2 separate regions of the Homo sapiens genome follow, and region 2 is linked to region 1. Evidence: promoter capture Hi-C in human tissues and cell types (Jung and others, 2019). All regions are on one chromosome and are shown on one strand. Each heading gives the region's core, a stretch centred on a gene start or on the middle of the fragment in contact. The rest is flanking DNA. Distances are from core to core; before and after follow the strand shown. Region 1 holds the start of RCOR1 (REST corepressor 1). Region 2 holds the start of TNFAIP2 (TNF alpha induced protein 2).

Region 1 (6,168 bases), core at 3,669-6,168:
TTTATCTGTAGGAGAGACGCGGTTTCTCCATGTTGGTTAGGCTGGTCTCGAACTCCCGACCTCAGGTGATCCATCCGCTTCAGCCTCCCAAAGTGCTGGGATTACAGGCGTAAGCCACCATGCTCACCCACACAAGTTTTAATTTTTATGAATTCCAATTTTTCTCTTTTGTTCCTTATCCTTTTGGCATCGTAATCAAGAAGACTTTGCCTACCTCATGGTCACAGAGATTTAGGTTTTCATCTGACAGTTTTATAGTTTTACAATTAGGTCTTACAATTAGGTCTACGATTTACTTGCTTAGTTATTAACATATTAAGTAACAAGTTCTAGCAGTGGGTCTAATAACTTCTGTGATTTTGGAGACGAGTATACGTGCTATTTTGAGGCTGGGCGCGGTGGCTCATGCCTGTAATCCCAGCACTTTGGGAGGCCAAGGTGGGCGGATCACGACGTCAGGAGTTCGACACCAGTCTGGCCAACATGGTGAAACCCCATCTCTACTAAAAACACAAAAATTAGCTGGGCGTGGTGGTGGGTGCCTGTGATCCCAGCTACTCAGAGCCTGAGGGAGGAAAATAGTTGGAACCCGGGAGGTTGCACTGAGCTGAGATCATGCCACTGCACTCCAGCCTGGGCGACAGAACAAGACTCTGTCTCAAAAAATAAAATAAAAATAAAATAAATAAATAAATGCTATTTTGAGATATTTCCAGTGACTGCAATGTGTTGAGATGGAATATCACCTACATTCATAAGTGAAGAAAATGCTGGATTTTGGTTAAAGGTTGATTTTTTTTTTGAGACAGGGGTCTTGCTGGAGGCCTCAAAGTACCTGGGATTATAAGTGAGTGCCACCGCACTTGGTGTTAAAGGTTAATTTAAATAAAGATGTATTTACCAGCTCTGGTTCATGGTCTCCAGAATTCTATCCATGGATTCCAGGTTCAGAACTCTTAGGATGGCTAAAATTCCAGCCTGAAGTCTCAGTTTTCCAATAGTCCTTTGGGGGCTTGAAACCTCCCAGGAATGGCTTTAGGGTGTTTTCCTGACACTTCCCAGCCCTGGCCCATACCCTGCCCTCTGCCTGGCTCCATTCTTGGGAAAGGAATTCCTTGCCAAACAGAATTTTCTAACAAGCCCAAATATAGTAATAATAATAATTAGCAGCAGGAAGAACTATAAACACTGGGGTAGGAAAGCCTGTACCCGTCTCTCCTTTTCCTGATCCCTTCCCTTCATTCCTGAACTGAAGGAGACGGAGCCCCTTTGGGCTTTGATGACTCCATCACTGGGGTATGTTCATTTGATGGTTGATTTTGCTGTACCAGGTACTTCCTTTCCCATTTTCTAATCATTTTATAACACATGCTGACTCTTTTCCCTTCCCTTTTTCTGGGAAAATACAATGAATACAAAATTATAAACACTGTATGTTTAGCATCAGACCAAGCATGTTGCAGACACCCTTGCCCCTGGCCGTCCCAGAATCCCTGGGGCAACTCTGGCCTTGGTTAAGAGGCTCCATAGCTCCTGGCTTAGCTGTGCCCCGGCTCCTCCCCTCATATCATGCCTGATCCTAGGAAGATATTTCACTTCTGGGTGCCTCAGCTTTCTCATCTATAAGGGTGGGGTATGAGATGGTCATGGTCATAGTTTTTGTTTTTTTTTAGGGTGGGGGGACGAGATGGTCATAGGGTCACAGTTTTTTTTTTTGTTTTTGTTTTATACAGACGGGATCTCGCTATGTCACCGGGCGCCATGGCTCAAGCCTGTAATCCCAGCACTTTGGAAGTCCGAGGCGGGCGGATCACGAGGCCAGGAGTTCAAGACCAGCCTGGCCAATATGGTGAAACCCCGTCTCTACTAAAAATACAAAAATTAGCCGGGTGTAGTGGCGGGTGCCTGTAATCTTAGCTACTCGGGAGGCTGAGGCAGAGGTTGCAGTGAGCCCAGATCGTGCCACTGGACTCCAGCCTGGGCGACAGAGTGAGACTCTGGATAAAAAAAAAATTAATGAAAGGAAAAAGGCAAGGAGGAATCCCAACGATGACAGGTTGAAAGCTGCAGAGGAGACTGATGGGGAGTGACCTGTGAGGTAGCAGGACCAGGTGAACTGGAATCCCCAGGTCCAGATAAGTGAGGGTTTCCAGGAGGAGGAGTGGTCGACTCAGCTGCTGCTGAGAAGCTCAGCGAGACCAAGAAGTGACCCCCGGATTGGGCAGCGGAGAGGTTGTAGGTTACCTTAGCAGCAGTTAAGGGGTGGGGACACAGCCCTGCTGGATGGGGTGATGAGAGGCTGGGACGGGAAGGGGTGGAGGAGGTGAGTGTAGGGAAGTCTACAGAAATGTCTGAAGGGAGGGAGAAATGGCCAGAGGCAGGAGAGGGTTTGGGGGCAGGAGTCGGTCCAGAGTGAGGCTGATGGCACAGAAAAGCCTCGAGGGGAGGGCAGCGGGATGGGGTCCTAGGCCTGAGGAGGACGTGAGTACCCGACAGGGAAGTTTGTCTGTTTGGGTACTGGGAGAGGAGAAAGATCCTGAAGGCTTTCGTTTTTCTCTGAAGAATGAGGTAAGGCCACGGGCTAGGAGCCCAGGCAGAAGGGGCTGTGGGAGGTGTAAGGAGAGGGGAGCAGGCATGAGGTCTCACTTTCAGAGTGGGAGTCTCACCGAAAAACATGATAGGGCTGCCGGCTTTGTGGATGCGTTAGAAGTGTGGGATCACAAATTCCCAATCCCAGGGCTGTGTGTGGAGCCCTCTCCCCAAGCGATGGGAAGGCGAGTGTCCTTAACGTTGGGGTTCCCTATGCTGGAAGGATGGACTCTATTACAGTCCATCAGGCCAGGAGGTAGGTACTGTTTCCTGTATTTTACGGTTGGTAAATCTGAGAGCTTCAGGCCAATACAGTATCGGTGTAGCATTAGGGTCAGACAAAATAGAACAGGGCCCGGCACATATTAAGTGTTAATATTCGTTGGAAAAAAAAAAAAAAGAATGCTTGTCAAGTCCACTGCTGCGCCCCTACTGGTAGCCCAGCCTGGCCTCAGCCTTGGGGGCTGGTGGGTGGAGAGGGCGGCCTTGTGTGCTCTGCTATCCCTATTGCCTTAATGACCCAGTATCACCTTTGTGCCCTTGTAGGTTGATCCTTCTAGTCTCGTGGCAGAACTTTGTAGACACCAAGCGAGCGGGGCAGCGTGTTCTGGACCTCATTCCTCACACAGGGCTCACCTCCGGATGAGTCAGAGGCCTTAGCCGGTGGCCCAGCCCCGGGAATGCCACCCCGGTTCTGTACCCTGCCCAGGCCAGCTGACAGGGTGTATTGGGGCACACACCTGCAGCATCCAGGGCACTCCAAGGAGAGGGACGTACTTTTGAGGAGAGTCTAAAAGTCTAAGTCCCCCACCTGAACTTGGTGGGGGAAGGGCTTCTATACCAGGAGGGCTCCCAGCCCTGTTTCTTAAAGGCCATTTAGGCAGAAGTGAACGTGGTCTCTTCAATAAAGTTAATAATGGTTCATGCTGCAGAAAATGTTCAAGACAAAACCCTGCTTATTTACTCAGGCTTTAAAACCATAAAACTCCCAAATTCTCCCTGTAGCTATTTATATCCAGAGCTAGTCCCCAAATTAAGCTCAGGTTTGAAGTAACTTAAAAGAAAAATAGCCTTCCCTGCTTTAAAAAGATTTTCCGTATAGACCTCCACTGGTCTAATTACGAAGGGCGCGTAGTTTCAGGGTTGGCTGGGGGTAGGGCACCGGGACCTCCAAGGCAGTTACACTCCTCAGCCTCCTAACAGCTGTACGGCTGCCCGGTGGTCCCTCTCCAAGGCAGCGGCTCTCAGGCTAGCCTCAGCCTACCCCACCCGCCCGCACCCCGTGTTCTCCCTCGTGGGGGTGCCGGGGGGAGTAGGGAGGCGGGGCGGGCGGCAGGTCCGGAAAAGTGGCTGCCCTCGCCCCGAAAGAAGTTGACCCTCCTCCCGTGCCGAGAGCTTGGGATGAAAATAGCTTCTTCCTCTTTACCCTTCCTGGACCCCCGCCCCAGGACGACTGGGCCCCTTCATTCATCTTTCAGCGGCCACCCAGGCGGCTTGGGCGTCCCCACGCCGGGACTCTGTGCCCCGGGGACCCACGGGGACCCTCCCTTGGGCCTCTGAAGCCGCGGCGCACCCCGCACCCAAGCCACCCCGGGGGCCCCGGCCTCCCCCACCCAATTAGCGGGCAGCACCGCAGACCCGAGTCCCCACGCAGCTCGCGCCAGGGGAGGCGGCCGCCTGGGAAGCCCGTCCCCCGCGCCGCGGCCCCCGCCCCCGCCAGCCCCGCGTCCCCTGGGAAAGGCGGGGGCGCAGCGAGTTTCCCCCAATTAGTTTCCTCTTTGTATGGAGTCTTAGCGCGCCCGTACTCCTCCGCGCAGCGGAAAGTAGTCCCGGCCGGGCGCTCCGCGGCTTCCCAGCGCCAGACACATTTTACTTTGAGAAGTCGACGGGACTCTCAGCGGGGTCCTTCAGATGGGGGGCCAGAGGCTGCGGGAGGCGTGCGCGGGCAGCAAGGGCAGGGGCCGCGGCCAAGGGTAGGGGGCGGGGAGGGCCGCGAACTCCTCGCCGCTGCCTGGAGAGATGGATCATGGGGCGTAGGGAGATGGCAAACCTCAAACCACGTACGGCGGGCGATACGCGTCAACCGAACCTCGCCAACGGAAGCCCGGAGCCGCCCCTCCCCGCTCCCCCGCCCCGCCGCCCCGGACGGACGGGCGCGCGGAGCCAACCCCGCTGCCGCTGGCTGTCCAAATCCCACCAGAGCCAATGGGAGCGCGAGGGGGGGCGGAGCCATCTCGCGTCAGTTGGGCTGCGCGCCCCCCTCCCCCGGCGCCCCTGCAGGCCCCGCCCCTGCCTCCTCCCCTCTCCGCTCGCTGCTCCCGGAGTAGTTGGTGCCAGTGAAGTGAGGGCGGCGATGAGAGCGAAAGTTGCGCTCGGCTCGTCGCTGGGGGCTTGAAGCGGCTCCGCGCTCTGCCCGTTTGGGCCTCCCCCGACTCGGACTCGCGCCCGTGGGCTCCCGCCGCGCCCGCCCGGCCCCGCGCCGGCCCCGCGCCCCCTCCCCCGTCTCGGCGCCCCCTCCTCAGGAGCCGCGGGTCCCCGCCACTTTCGCACGGCCCCGGCCCCCGCCGATGCCGGCCATGGTGGAGAAGGGCCCCGAGGTCTCAGGGAAGCGGAGAGGGAGGAACAACGCGGCCGCCTCCGCCTCCGCCGCCGCCGCCTCCGCCGCCGCCTCGGCCGCCTGCGCCTCGCCAGCCGCCACTGCCGCCTCGGGCGCCGCCGCCTCCTCAGCCTCGGCCGCCGCCGCCTCAGCCGCCGCCGCCCCCAATAATGGCCAGAATAAAAGTTTGGCGGCGGCGGCGCCCAATGGCAACAGCAGCAGCAACTCCTGGGAGGAAGGCAGCTCGGGCTCGTCCAGCGACGAGGAGCACGGTAGGTGGCAGCCGCCCCCGCGGCCCCGGGCCCCGCGCCCCGCGCCGCGCTGACCGCCGTATTCTGCTTCCCCCGCAGGTGGCGGTGGCATGAGGGTCGGACCCCAGTACCAGGCGGTGGTGCCCGACTTCGACCCCGGTGAGTAGCGGCCCCGGCCGGCCGGCGGCGGGGATGAGCGGGAGCCCCGGGTCCCCGGCGAGCCCGAGGGGGCGGGAGCCCGCCGACAACTTTCTTTTTGTGCGTTCGCCCTGCCGTCCGTGGGGAGAACAGCAGGGCGAGGACGAGGAGGCGCACACGCACACGAGTGTTCTGCAAACGTGCCTCTGCACCCGGGGGAGGCCAGGTCGCCCCCAGCAGGGCCGGCGCCGCTGCCCCCTTGCGCCTCCGAGGACTGCGGGTGGCGTCGGAGGTGGCCACACCTGGCCTGGGGGCGCTGGGGGTCCCTGCGTCCAGGTGAGCTGCGCCTCGGCCAGGGGTAAGGGTGGCAGTGCCGGAGAGTTAGTGTCCTGCGAGCGCCCCGGACTTAGGAGGTCCCCAGAGACCCCTTTCTCGGAACCCTTCCCAAAGGCTGCTCCCCACGCCTTTGCTCCTCCTCTCAGCCTCTGGGCTCTTGCTGGCTCCTGACTGCCCTCCCATCCAGAAGGCGAGTAGAAGAACGACCCCCCAAAACCAGTCAATAAAAGAAGTGTGTTTTCCAGAGGGCGCCTGCCT
Region 2 (6,728 bases), core at 3,830-6,329, 530 kb after region 1:
TTTTAGGAGAGCTGAACTTGGGGAGGAGAGTGGCCGCTTGCAGCTGGCATAGAGAACTTCCTATGCCCATGAGTTCCACCAGGACCCACTCCTCCAGGAAGCCCTCCTACACCACACTATTTGGAAGGCCACTGGGGTTGGGGTCCTGCTGCCCCATAGGCCCTGCTTTCTCTCCCATGGCCCTTCTCCAGCAAGGACAGTGGGTCAGGCTCATGGAATAGCTGCAGAAGCCATACCTCATCAGGCCTCGGTTTCTCCATCTGCCAAATACGAAAAGGAATCCTTGGCCTGGCTTCCTCCTAGGAGGAAAGGGGCAGGGGGGCTATCAACAAATCGACAGTGTCCCGTGGGGCTGGGGTGGGGCACCGCCTGATGGTACATGTCTGGGCTGCTGAGGGTCCTCATGCTCCCTCCTTTGCAGGAGGGGATGTGCCGTGAAAGTGGCTCCTGGTCAGCTGTCCTGGCCATCCCACAGTCCCGGAGGAGGTCAGCAGACTTCAGCCAGGGTCTCATGGAGCTGTAGGTGATGCTGAGCAAGTCACTGCTCCTCTTGGGGAAGGCTGGGTGGCAGCAGGGACCTCAGGCTTAAGGCCTCAACCTCTGTGCCTGCTTCTCTGAGACTCAGTTTCCTCATCTGTCAACAGGGAACACAATGGCCCCACCCCATGCAGACAGTAGGGCATCCCCAGGAAGAGTCTCAGGGCTGGTGACAGCCTGAGAAGTGAAAGGGAGAAGCAGGGTGAGTGTTGGGGTCCTGGGAACCAGGGTTAGGGCAGTGGGAAGTGCAAGTCATCATGCAGAGGGAAGTGGGCCCGGGCTGCTGGGGGAGGGGCTAGGTGACCCACCCTGAGGTCAGCACCACTCTTGTGACCAAGGCTAGCAGCTGCAGCCACGCCTCTGGCCAGGCCCAGCCACCTATAGGCCCTCTGCCCCTCGTGATCACCCACCACCCTGGGCCCTGCTCCAGGTTGCTCTCCCTTCTGCCTTCGACTGCCCTCTTCTTCCTTTTTTTTTTTTTTTTTTTTTTTTGAGATGGAGTTTCACTCTTGTTGCCCAGGCTGGAGTGCAATGGCGTGATCTCAGCTTACCGCAACCTCTGCCTCCCAGGTTCAAGTGATTCTCCTGCCTCAGGCTCCCGAGTAGCTGAGATTACAGGCATGCACCACCACACCTGGCTAATTTTGTATTTTTAGTATTTTGTATTTTGTATTTTTAGTAGAGACGGGATTTCTCCATGTTGGTCAGGCTGGCCTCGAACTCCCGACCTCAGGTGATCCGCCCGCCTTGGCCTCCCAAAATGCTGGGATTACAGGGGTGAGCCACCATGCCCAGCCCCAACTGCCCCTCTTCTAGAGAGCTTTCCTCTAGGTGCCTTCAAGAATGCAGAGAGAGGGCCAGTAATGTGCCTCCCTGTGTTATTCTCTGGTCCGTGCTGAATCGGCCTTTTCTGCTGCCCTACAGGGCGCAGGTGGAGGTTTAATTAATGGACTAAATGAGGTAATGAAAAAGATTGGGAAAAATTTTTTTCAAGGTGAAAAAGGAGTGAAGGATAGTACCTCCCATTTCTGCATCTAAACTCCTTGGTCTAGAAGTCCTTTCTTGTGTCTGACTTAAATACATCAAGCTGAATTTCAGACGCTGAGCAACGTTGGAGGAGAAGCAAGATAACACTGTGCTTAGTGAAGGGGCTCCTAGCTTCACCACTGGCTGGCACATGACTGGACCGCTCTGTGCCTCAGTTTCCTCATCTGTGAAAAGAAGAGAGTTAGTGCCCACTTCATTAGGCTGTCCGATGAAATCGGCTAATGTATACAAAACACTTAGAACAACGCCTGGCACCGGTGGAGATCAACAAACATCAGCAGTCTACCCAAAAGAATTGAAAGCAGGAACGTGAACAGATATTTGCATACCCGTGTTCTTTTGTTTGTTTGTTTTTGTTGTGAGACAGGGTCTTACTCTGTTGCCCAGGCTGGAGTGCAGTGGTGCAATCATGGCTCACTGCAGCCTTAACCTGCCAGGCTCAGGTGGTTCTCCCACCTCAGCCTCCCAAGTAGCTGGGGCTACAGGTGCACCCCATCACACCTGGCTAATTGTTTGTATTTTTGGTGGAGACAGGGTCTCACTATGTTGCCCAGGTTGATCTTGAGTTCCAGAGCTCAAGCGATCCACCCGCCTGGGCCTCCCAAAGTGCTGGGATTACAGGCATGAGCCACCACACCTGGTATACACACCCATGTTTTATAGCAGCACTGTACACAGCAGCCAAGAGGTAGCAGCAATCCCAGTGTGCACAGAGAGATGAATGAATGCACAGTGTAGCCCATCCATACAATGGAATATGATTCAGCCTCAAAAAGGAAGGGAATTCTGATACCTGCTACCACATGAATGAATCTTGAAGGCATTATGCTGAGTGAAATAAACCTGACAACGCCCTCCTGGCAGATGCAGACACAAAAGGATAAACGCTGTGTGACTCTATTTATTTGCAGTACATAGAATAGTCAAGACCACAGAGACGAAAGGTAGAATGGCGGTTGCCAGGGCCCGGAGGAGAGGGAAAGAGGAGTTAGTGCATAGTGGGTAGAGTTTCCGTTTTGCCAGGTGACGATTTCTGCAGGTGGAGGGTGCTGTTGGTTGCACGACCCTGTGAATATACTTAATGCCACTGAACTGTGCACTTAAAAGATTATAAATTGCATTATGTATATTGTACCATAATAATTTTTAAACAGTCAGCTGTCATTGCTCTGGCAGACAGAAGGGAGGGAACATCCCATGTGTCGTAGCCTCTGAGGCCCTGGGTTGCGTGCGAGGAGCTGACCGTGGCTCCTGGCCAGGTGCTGGCACACTCGCCTTCTAGGCTAAATGGAGAGGTCATTGCCAGTCTGCTCCTGTCTGCTGCCCTCCCCACCAGGCAGAGCCCCCTGCTCACTGCCCCTGGCCTGTGCCCTGGGGAGCTGGGGAATGGGACAGCCGCTGGCCACTGGTCACAAACATCGCCACCCAGCATGTGATGCTGGCTTCCTGCTGGGGAGGAGCCGTAGGCTGGCCTTTGGCTCCTCTGGAAGTGCCTGGCCTCTTGGGAACTGCTTTCTGCATCTGCGAGAAGAGGGTAAGGACTGCTCCTGCCCTATGGGCCCCATTGGCTGTCATCCCTTGGGCCTCCATGCTGCCCCATTTTCAGAAGACTTTCCTTGTCTTGAGGACTTCACGTATGTTACCATTGACCCTCATGCCTGAGCTTAGAGAGGGGAAGTGACTGGTGCAGACACAAGTCCAAGGCAGCAGCCTCGTTTCCCAATCCCCAGCCGGTGCTCTGGGCGGGCCACTGCCGTCAGTGGGGGACAAGGGTGGCAGCCCCGCCTCAGCCCTGCAAAGCCCGTGGAGACCAGGGGCTGCCTTCGAGGGGACAGTGGGGCCTAAGGCCTGACAACGCCCTCCTGGCAGATGCAGACTTCCCGAGCAATTTCCCGATCTGCTTGGGAATGGGAGGGGGGGTGAGGGGGTGGGGTGGGGGAACAGAGTCTGGCAGGAGAGGCTTGTGGGGATTGCACAATGAGGCCACAGCAGCCAGCCGTGAAGGCAGCCACCGGCCAGGGCCCCTCAGCCCGTATCCTCATCGCCCCTGTGTGGATGAACTCCATCTGCGCGGTGCCGGTGGAAGGACCCTCCCAGCCCCGGGACACCGCGGCTCTGTGGACTCATCTGAAAAATGTCATCCCTGGAGTCCTAGGAGAGAAGGGGTGGGGTTGGCAGCCTTAACGCCCCATCCTGCATCCTGGCGGCCTCCCGCATCCGCTCCCCCACAGGTTCCCCAGAGACAGGATGATGGATGGCAATCCGAGTGCAAACCTGGCGCTTGGCCAGCACTCTGGAAGAGGAAGTTCTCAGTTCCCAGGGCACCTGAACCCACAGCCGCCCCCACTCCGCTGGCCCCCCTGGTCCTGGAAGACCTGTTACTAGGCTGCAGAAGGGGTGGCGGAGTGATCAGGGGGCGGGGAAAGAGGCCAAACAAAAGAGGGGAGGAGCAGAGGCCCCAGTGAGGCAGGAGGGAAGCCCCTGCCCAGCGGGAAATTCCTAAATGTCTGGGTCCTTTCCAGAGGGCAGGAATTCCTAGCCTAGAGTGTGAAATAAGGAAGGAAGTGAATCTCCAGTGGGTTCCCTTCACAGCCCCTTTCCATCCTCCCCACATGCCCCACCCCCACATCTCCCAAAACAAACCCTGAGAGACGGTGTGGATGGGGAGACAGGCCTGGAAACGGAGGCCTGCGCTGAATGGGCAAAGCCGGGTTGATGATCCAGACGAGGCCCTGGAGTCTGGGCCTTGGGCCCCTCCCCTTCTGCCTGCTCCGGCAGCCTGTGGGTCCAGCCCCAGCCCCAGAGGGGGAAAGGCTCCAGTGGGAGTCCCATAGGCCTGGCTAGGAACCCCACTCCGCTACTTAAAGTGGTGTGAGCCGGGTCAGCCACTTCACCTTTCCGCATTTACGCATTTCAAGCAAGGCTTGACGACCGGAGGGGCTCAAGGCCCTGTGCACAGCCGCGCGGCCAGCACTCTGGCCAGCCTTGTAGCCCCCTTCCCCTTAGGGGGCCTCCTTCAGGAAGCCCCCGTCCCCTGCCTCCTTGTGGCCACGGTGACACCGGAACACTTCAGAGGGGCGGCTGGGGAGTTGGGGTGGGACGGGCTCTCCCGCAGCTGGAGCCGGTGTGTGACGCGGGAACGCGGCCAAGCGCGCCCCATCCAGGCGGCCTATCAGGAGCCGTCGTCGGACAATGGCTCCGCGCCTGACAACCCCGTCGTCCCCGTGCCGTCCCCCGAACTCCACATACCATGCGACGCGCGGCCAGCCCCCCGCCCCTGCCCGGCTGCTGGGAGGAAGTGACAGCGCCCCGCATCCCCCGCTGGGCAGGCCGGGCGCGCCCAGCCCCTGGGACGCAGGGACACAGCCGGGCCGCGCTGGGCCTTGGCCTCCGCCCGCGGGTTTTCCGCGGTTGCGGCGGGGCGGGGAAGGAGGGGCGGGCGGGGCGGGGCTGACTCTGCGACTATTTCAGGCCTTGCGGAACCCGGGCCAGGACAGTGGCGGCCAGGCCGGGACACGGTAAGTGACCTCCGCTTCCACACGTCCATTCCCCGCCGCTCCGCGCGGCTTCTCGCCCGCCCCTACCCCGAGGCCAGGCCGGATTCCCCGAGGAAAGAGCCTGTCGCCGCGGCGGGGACAGGAGGGGGCTGGACGCTTCCAGGGAAACTGAGGCCCTGGCGCGCCCAGCGTCCGCGCGTCCGGGCGCAGAGGGGCCAAGGCTGGCTGAGGGCCCGGGCCTGCCAGAGGCAGGGAGGGCGGGGCTGGGGCAGGCGCAGGGGTCTCCCCTCCATTACAGCAGAAAGGCCCCAGGTCCGGCGTGACTCCCCGGCCGGGCGACACAGGCCGAGTCACTTCCTCGCCCGTGCCCGGGTGTCCTCATCGGGGGATGGGTGCGCCTTCCACATCCTGCCCAGGACTGAAGGAGCCGGGCCCAGCGAGCTCCCGGGAGGTGTGTGGACATCAGCCCTGACGGGGAAGGCGAGCCAGGTCAGTGGACCTGAGGAGAGGCCGGGCAGCAGGAGGCTGGGGGGCGCTGTTGAGCCACTGGCTGTGACCCCTCTACGAGCCTCCCAGCAGGCCCCTTCCTGCCTCAGTGGGCCCAACCAGCGGCAAGGCTCAAAGGAACGCCCCTCCTCCCCTTCTTCCTTTCTGGCTGCACCGGCTCGCTGCTGCCTGCAGGACAGACTCAGGACACAGGAGACTCACCCCCACTGAGGCCCAGCTAGGCGCCCAGCACTTGGCTGTGCGGTTTGGCCACATCCCCTCAGCAGCACTGTGGGGTGGGGGTCCTCATCCCCTTTTCAAAGACGGGGAAACGGCGGCTTGTGAAGGAAGGAGGTGTGCAGTCCACACACTAGTGAGAAGTGTGCTGAGCCCACACCGAAAGCGTTTCTCTTTCCATGGCACCAGCTGCCTCGGAGAGCGGAGACCTGGGGCGAGGCCCAGGGGGCTGCAGCAGGACCTTCAGGCGCTCTGGGTTTCGTGTCACAGAGGGGAGAAGGCGGTGATGCTGTGGGGGTCCTGCGGGAGCTGTGCCTGGAGGTGGGACAGAGCCTAGTACATGTGGGGTGGGACAGGGAAGGCTGAGGTGAGGCTGGCAGGGAGCATTGCTGGTAAGGGCCACCCTCCCCCACCCCAGGAGAATGGCAGAGGTGGGGCCTGGGCACCCAGGGTGGGGCTGAGTGGCCCTGCCAGACAGACCAGCTCCCGCGGGTGCTAGGCATGCACCTGAGAGGGGCTGGGAAGCGAAGTTGGGGCACCGGGTGGGGAGCAGAGGTGCCCCATGGCCTTGCCCCTGGGGCTCCCTGGAGCATGCCCCTCTTGGTCCTGGAGTGGAATGCTCAACCCAAATGGCACTAGGGAGGCCAGTGCCATCCAGGAGTGTGGGACTCTGCCCAGGGCACTGGGTGAGCATGGCAGGGGCTGGGGGTGGGAGGAGCCCAGGCTTCCTGTCCCTCAGGTGGCTCTGGCCAAGCCCCTCCAGGATGGGGACAGGGTAGTGGGGCTGGTGGAGGCAGCGGGGCCATGGGAAGAGTCGGATGGGCCCAGTCTGAGCCTCCATGGCTGCTGTGCTTGGGGCAAACACCTCCTACTCAGCCTCAGTTTCTCCTTCTGGATGGTGGATCATCCTGCCTGCCTTGCAGG

The links. The method cuts DNA at HindIII sites, captures the fragments that hold promoters and counts their contacts. A contact is called where the count stands out against the background at its distance.
Region 2: the fragment with the promoter of TNFAIP2 here is called in contact with the fragment with the promoter of RCOR1 in region 1 in 1 of the 25 tissues and cell types used here (lymphoblastoid cells).

Annotation. Positions count from the first base shown.
Region 1 is chr14:102,587,731-102,593,898 of GRCh38, forward strand. It overlaps RCOR1 (REST corepressor 1), which reads left to right and starts at 4,919. Exons shown (of 12, transcript NM_015156.4): 1 at 4,919-5,457; 2 at 5,536-5,595. The coding sequence starts at 5,157. RefSeq lists enhancers at 3,191-3,240, 3,522-4,337 and silencers at 3,916-5,225, 5,286-5,895. The HindIII fragment of the contact is 11,930 bases long and covers 1-6,168 here.
Region 2 is chr14:103,118,382-103,125,109 of GRCh38, forward strand. It overlaps TNFAIP2 (TNF alpha induced protein 2), which reads left to right and starts at 5,080. Exons shown (of 12, transcript NM_006291.4): 1 at 5,080-5,570. It overlaps LINC00677 (long intergenic non-protein coding RNA 677), which reads right to left and starts at 4,528. Exons shown (of 2, transcript NR_138038.1): 1 at 4,228-4,528; 2 at 2,468-2,650. RefSeq lists enhancers at 4,011-4,543, 4,544-5,077 and silencers at 4,742-5,021, 5,322-5,371. The HindIII fragment of the contact is 20,075 bases long and covers 1-6,728 here.